Linked DNA regions of Homo sapiens: region 1 is linked to region 2. Evidence: promoter capture Hi-C in human tissues and cell types (Jung and others, 2019). All regions are on one chromosome and are shown on one strand. The core of a region is centred on a gene start or on the middle of the fragment in contact, and the rest is flanking DNA. Distances in the headings are between cores, read along the strand shown. Region 1 holds the start of DLL4 (delta like canonical Notch ligand 4). Region 2 overlaps INO80 (INO80 complex ATPase subunit).

What was found. The method cuts DNA at HindIII sites, captures the fragments that hold promoters and counts their contacts. A contact is called where the count stands out against the background at its distance.
Region 1: a contact is called between the fragment with the promoter of DLL4 here and a fragment that was not itself captured in region 2, in 2 of the 25 tissues and cell types used here (bladder and dorsolateral prefrontal cortex).

What each region holds. Positions count from the first base shown.
Region 1 is chr15:40,927,897-40,930,596 of GRCh38, forward strand. It overlaps DLL4 (delta like canonical Notch ligand 4), which reads left to right and starts at 1,444. Exons shown (of 11, transcript NM_019074.4): 1 at 1,444-1,838; 2 at 1,951-2,220. The coding sequence starts at 1,773. RefSeq lists silencers at 586-655, 1,249-1,338. The HindIII fragment of the contact is 17,329 bases long and covers 1-2,700 here.
Region 2 is chr15:41,099,435-41,102,134 of GRCh38, forward strand. All of the region lies in intron 1 of INO80 (INO80 complex ATPase subunit), which reads right to left. Among named protein-coding and RNA genes, the nearest start is that of INO80, 15 kb to the right of the region's middle. The HindIII fragment of the contact is 3,775 bases long and covers 1-2,700 here.

The DNA of each region.
Region 1 (2,700 bases), core at 194-2,693, 170 kb before region 2:
CGGCATTGGCAGCTGTTGGGCTTCTCGCCGCTCCCCCACCCTTACCGCCTCCCCCGGGTTCGCGCCGCGTCCCGGCTCCCCCCCCGCGCTGATCTTACCGCCCGACTACAGCCATCACCTCGCGGGCGGGCTGACAGCTGAAGCCACAGGGCCCCCGCTGCCCTCGGCGTCGCAAAGAGAGAGCTCCCCGGCACCCCTGAGACTGGGAGAAGCCGGCCCTCCCCGGTCTGCGGTCTCCGGGGATCACGCCGGGTTCCGAGAAAGCAGCTGCGCTGCTGCCGCTTGGAGGAGTGGGGCCACCCAGGGGACCCTCTCGGGCGAGACTTGGGAAGCCGCCTGAAACTCAAACAGCTCCGCAAGCCTCCAGTTCCACCCCACATCCCGCCTTATGAGGCGAGGACCCGGGCCGACCCGGCCTCAGTCCCTCACCTTGATTCTCCAGTGGCCTGAGCCAACTCTGGCGTCAGGAGAGTTCCTCCTTGCCCCAGCTGAGCGACAGGGCGCGGCCGGGGGCTTGGGGCTGCTGGGGTGGGGGGAGGCAGTGGGCGCAGGAACTGAAGCTGGACTCAGGTGAGGGGACGCGCTGGAGGCGGGGCCAGAACCTCATTACCATACAGCTGAGGACGCGCCCCCCTCCTACCTCCGGGACCACGCCCCGCCCTCCCCCACCTCAGGGACCGCGCGTCTGGGTCTCTGGCACGCGCCAAGCCCTGGCAGGGGGCAGAAGGGAGAAGGCACGCGCTGGGCACGCCCCCCCTTAGCTAGAGAGGGAGACGCCCAACAGGTGCACAGAGAGGGCCCCGAGCCTTAGACCCTTAGCCCCTAGCCTTGCTCAGAGTGGCCACAGAGAGGTTAACGCTTCTGCTGGCTTCCCTGCTGCGCTGGGGACGCGTGGTGGGTGGGCACTCATAGGTTGGGGGCCGTTGAGACAAGGGCTCCAGAAGCTCCAGGAAGGAAAAGGAGATCGGATTTCCCTAGCGCTGGTTTTTGCATTCCGGGCTTAAGTTCTTTTTACCTGCTTTGGAACACTAGGTAACTAGCGCCTGCTGCGGATGCACAGCCTACAGGGACTGCCTAGTGTCTCCGCCCCCAAGACCATCCCCGAACCACCCACTCACCTCCTGCCCCATTACCGGGCAACCCCTCTATCCTCCGGCGGCCAGGGTCTCAGCCCTTAACCCCGCCATCACGGAGGACTGGTCACCTCGGCACGCGCAGAGCTGGGGGACCTAGAGGTTGGGAGCGGCACGGAGGGGCGGGGACCTGCGCCCGACTGGCTGACGGGGAGGGGGGAGCGGCGGGGGCGGAGGCCCCCTCCGGGCGGCGCTGGGACTGTAGCAGCTAGAGGCCGGGAGGGGAGGGGAGAATGACCATGAGTCTGAGTGACAGGCGGCGAGGAGAGGAGCCAATATATATAAGGAAGGCCCCCAGCGCGCAGGTTTCAGTAGCGGCGCTGCGCGCAGGCCGGGAACACGAGGCCAAGAGCCGCAGCCCCAGCCGCCTTGGTGCAGCGTACACCGGCACTAGCCCGCTTGCAGCCCCAGGATTAGACAGAAGACGCGTCCTCGGCGCGGTCGCCGCCCAGCCGTAGTCACCTGGATTACCTACAGCGGCAGCTGCAGCGGAGCCAGCGAGAAGGCCAAAGGGGAGCAGCGTCCCGAGAGGAGCGCCTCTTTTCAGGGACCCCGCCGGCTGGCGGACGCGCGGGAAAGCGGCGTCGCGAACAGAGCCAGATTGAGGGCCCGCGGGTGGAGAGAGCGACGCCCGAGGGGATGGCGGCAGCGTCCCGGAGCGCCTCTGGCTGGGCGCTACTGCTGCTGGTGGCACTTTGGCAGCAGGTAACACGTCCCGCGCCCTCTCCGTCCCCTCTGCCGCGCTCTGGGCCTCAGCCCCGGGCACCAGCTGAGCTGACCGGTCCCCTCCCTCCTTCCCTCGGTCCCTGTGCAATAGCGCGCGGCCGGCTCCGGCGTCTTCCAGCTGCAGCTGCAGGAGTTCATCAACGAGCGCGGCGTACTGGCCAGTGGGCGGCCTTGCGAGCCCGGCTGCCGGACTTTCTTCCGCGTCTGCCTTAAGCACTTCCAGGCGGTCGTCTCGCCCGGACCCTGCACCTTCGGGACCGTCTCCACGCCGGTATTGGGCACCAACTCCTTCGCTGTCCGGGACGACAGTAGCGGCGGGGGGCGCAACCCTCTCCAACTGCCCTTCAATTTCACCTGGCCGGTGAGCACAGCCTGGGCGCACTGGGAGGTCGCAGAAGCCGAGAGAGGAGGCGCCCTGGGACCAAAGCCCCCTCCCCAGATTTCCTTGTACACACACCCCCACCCCCAAAAAGCCCAGGATGCATTCTTTCCTGGCTCTTCCCGACTCTCTCCTGAGACTGATCCCAGAAAAGGCTCTCACCAGTCTCCGTCTTCCCAGTTTATGTCCTCCCGTCCCCAGCTCTTGGGACACGATTTTCATTACCTACCACTCTGGGGCGGTACCCTACCACCCCCTCCTCCAGTGGCTCTCCCTTACACTCTCCCGTCTCTCAACCCTCCCTCTACCGGGGGTTCTCCTCTCGCCTTCCCTGCTCAAGCGCTACACTGTGCACAGCCCCGTTATGTTGACCCGGGCGCAGTAACTGAATCCTGCAATTAGATTAATTAAACAGGCTGCCGCAAGGCACCCCCACCTCTCCCCGCTTGCTCATCTCGCCAT
Region 2 (2,700 bases), core at 45-2,544:
TTTCATAGTTTGTAAATTGTCAGTCTTGGTAATATAAAGAAAAAAGAATGCTAAAAAATACTTTTGGCCAGGAGCAGTGGCTGAAGCTTGTAATCCCAGCACTTTGGGAGGTGAGGCAGGAGGAGAGCTTGAGCCCAAGAGTTCAAGACCAGCCTGAGTAACATGGCGAGACCTTGTCTCTACAAAAAAATTTAAAAATTAGCTGAGTGTAGTGGCATGCACCTGTAAACCCAGCCACTTGGGAGGCTGAGGAGGGAGGATGGTTTGAGCCCAGGAGGTTGAGACCTCAGTAAGTCATGAACGCACCACTGTACTCCAGCCTGCATAACAGAGTGAGACTATCCAAAAAAAAAAAAACTTTAAATTTCACCTTTTCAAAATGAGACCTAACGTGTACCCACCCACTCCAGAAGATTTCAAAGAAATTGGTTTTTAAAATACAACAAAACTCCCTTAAGAGAACAGCAAATAATTCATCTTGATACATGTATAAATGTAAAACTACTCTGCTTGGCTCCATCCCAAGCTTTTATTACAGAACAATTAATCCATGCTCTAGTTATTTTACCTGATAAGGAAAATGACACTAATTAAGGAGGTATGACTACCAAGTAATACGGAGTGATTCGAAATGAATGGAATATTTTCTTTTCTTTTTTTTTTGAGACAAAGTCTTGTAGCCGAGGCTGGAATGCTGTGGCCCAATCTCGGCTCACTGCAAGCTCTGCCTCCCAGGTTCACGCCATTCTCCTGCCTCAGCCTCCCGAGTAGCTGGGACTACAGGCGCCTGCCACCACGCCAGGCTAACTTTTTGTATTTTTAGTACAGACGGGGTTTCACTGTGTTAGCCAGGATGGTCTCGATCTCCTGACCTCGTGATTCGCCCGCCTCGGCCTCCCAAAGTGCTGGGATTACAGGTGTGAGCCACTGTGCCCGGCCAATGAATGGAATATTTTCAAAACTTATTCCTCAGTACCTATGTGAGTATGAAATCAAAAACAATTTGTTGAAGAAAGATCACAGTTAACTTCTAGTCTTACAATCCTCAATATATGCTCCCTTTTGACACCCAGTATACATCAGTCCTGTCAACTGATTCATCCCAGAAATCATCTTTGCAGCATATCACCACTGATGGCTGAAATGACAGCTGCAATGAATTCCCTTATGTCCACAATACCACCAAAAAAAGGTGCTGTAAGCACAAAATTCTCCACAAGAAGTCCTATGATGACATCTGGAGAACCAAGTTATATTTTTTAAGTGTTCAATTTTTTTCTTTATGGTGGCAAAAGACATAAAACTTACCATTTTAACCATTTTTAAGTGTACACTTCAGTGGCATTATATACATTCACATTGTTGTGCAACCATTACTACCATTCACAATTTTTTCTTTTTTTTTTTTTTTTGAGACAGAGGCTCCCTCTGTCGCCCAGGCTGGAGCACAATGGGGTGATCTCCGCTCACTACAATCTCCGCCTCCTGGGTTCAAGTGATTCTCTCACCTCCAGCCTCCCAAGTAGCTGGGACTACAGGCGCACCCCACCACACACAGCTAATTTTTGTATTTTTAGTAGAGATGGAGTTTTACCATGTTGGCCAGGCTGGTCTCAAACGCCTGGCATCAAGTGATCCACCCACCTCAGCCTCCCAAAGTAGTGGGATTATAGGCATGAGCCACCCACCCGGCTGACAATCATTTCTTAATCACCTTTTAAGATTGCTGGCCTCTCAATTCAGCCTAGTCTTGATTAGCATGTTAAAAGCTGCTGCTGCAATAACCACTTTCATCTCCTCATTTGTCTCTTATTCCCTACAAGGAAACTGCATGGCCATCAACCTGACCCATCTGTTATCGTCCAACTTCAGCAAAACACTTGATAATTCTCAATAACCCTTTTACCCACCTTCTACCAATTGTTTCTCATTCTCTACCAAGATTACTTCAAATCTTTTTTCCCTCTTCCTCAAAATGCTGAAGTCATTCCCCGCTCATCTTGGAAGAGCCTGAAGAGCAAATCATTCCATCCTCTTTTATTTCACCTTAGCTCAATAGTTTCCTCTTACTTGCTGTGATATTTGAGTCACCAACACAAACAGACTTTATTTGTAACTTTTTTTTTTTTTTTTGAGACAGAGTCTTGCTCTGTCACCCAGGCTGGAGTGCAGTGGCGAGATCTCTGCTCACTGCAAGCTCCGCCTCCCAGGTTCAAGCCATTCTCCTGCCTCAGCCTCCCGAGTAGCTGGGACTGCAGGCGCCCGCCACAACGCCTGGCTAAGTTTTTTTGTATTTTAGTAGAGACGGGGTTTCACTGTGTTAGCCAGGATGATCTCGATCTCCTGACCTCGTGATCCACCCACCTCGGCCTCCCAAAGTGCTGGGATTACAGGCGTGAGCCACCGCACCCGGCCTATTTGTAACTCTTAGTCAAGGTGATTCTCCATACTAGTACAAAAGATATGACTATTTCTTGGCGGGCATGGTGGCTCATGCCTGTAATCCCAGCACTTTGGGAGGCTGAGACGAGCAGATTACAAGGTCAGGAATTCGAGACCAACCTGGCTAACACAGTGAAATCCCGCCTTTACTAAAAATACAAAAAAGTAGCTGGGCTTGGTGGCACGCACCTGTAGTCCCAGCTACTCAGGAGGCTGAGGCAGGAGAATCGCTTGAACCTGGGAGGTGGAGGTTGCAGT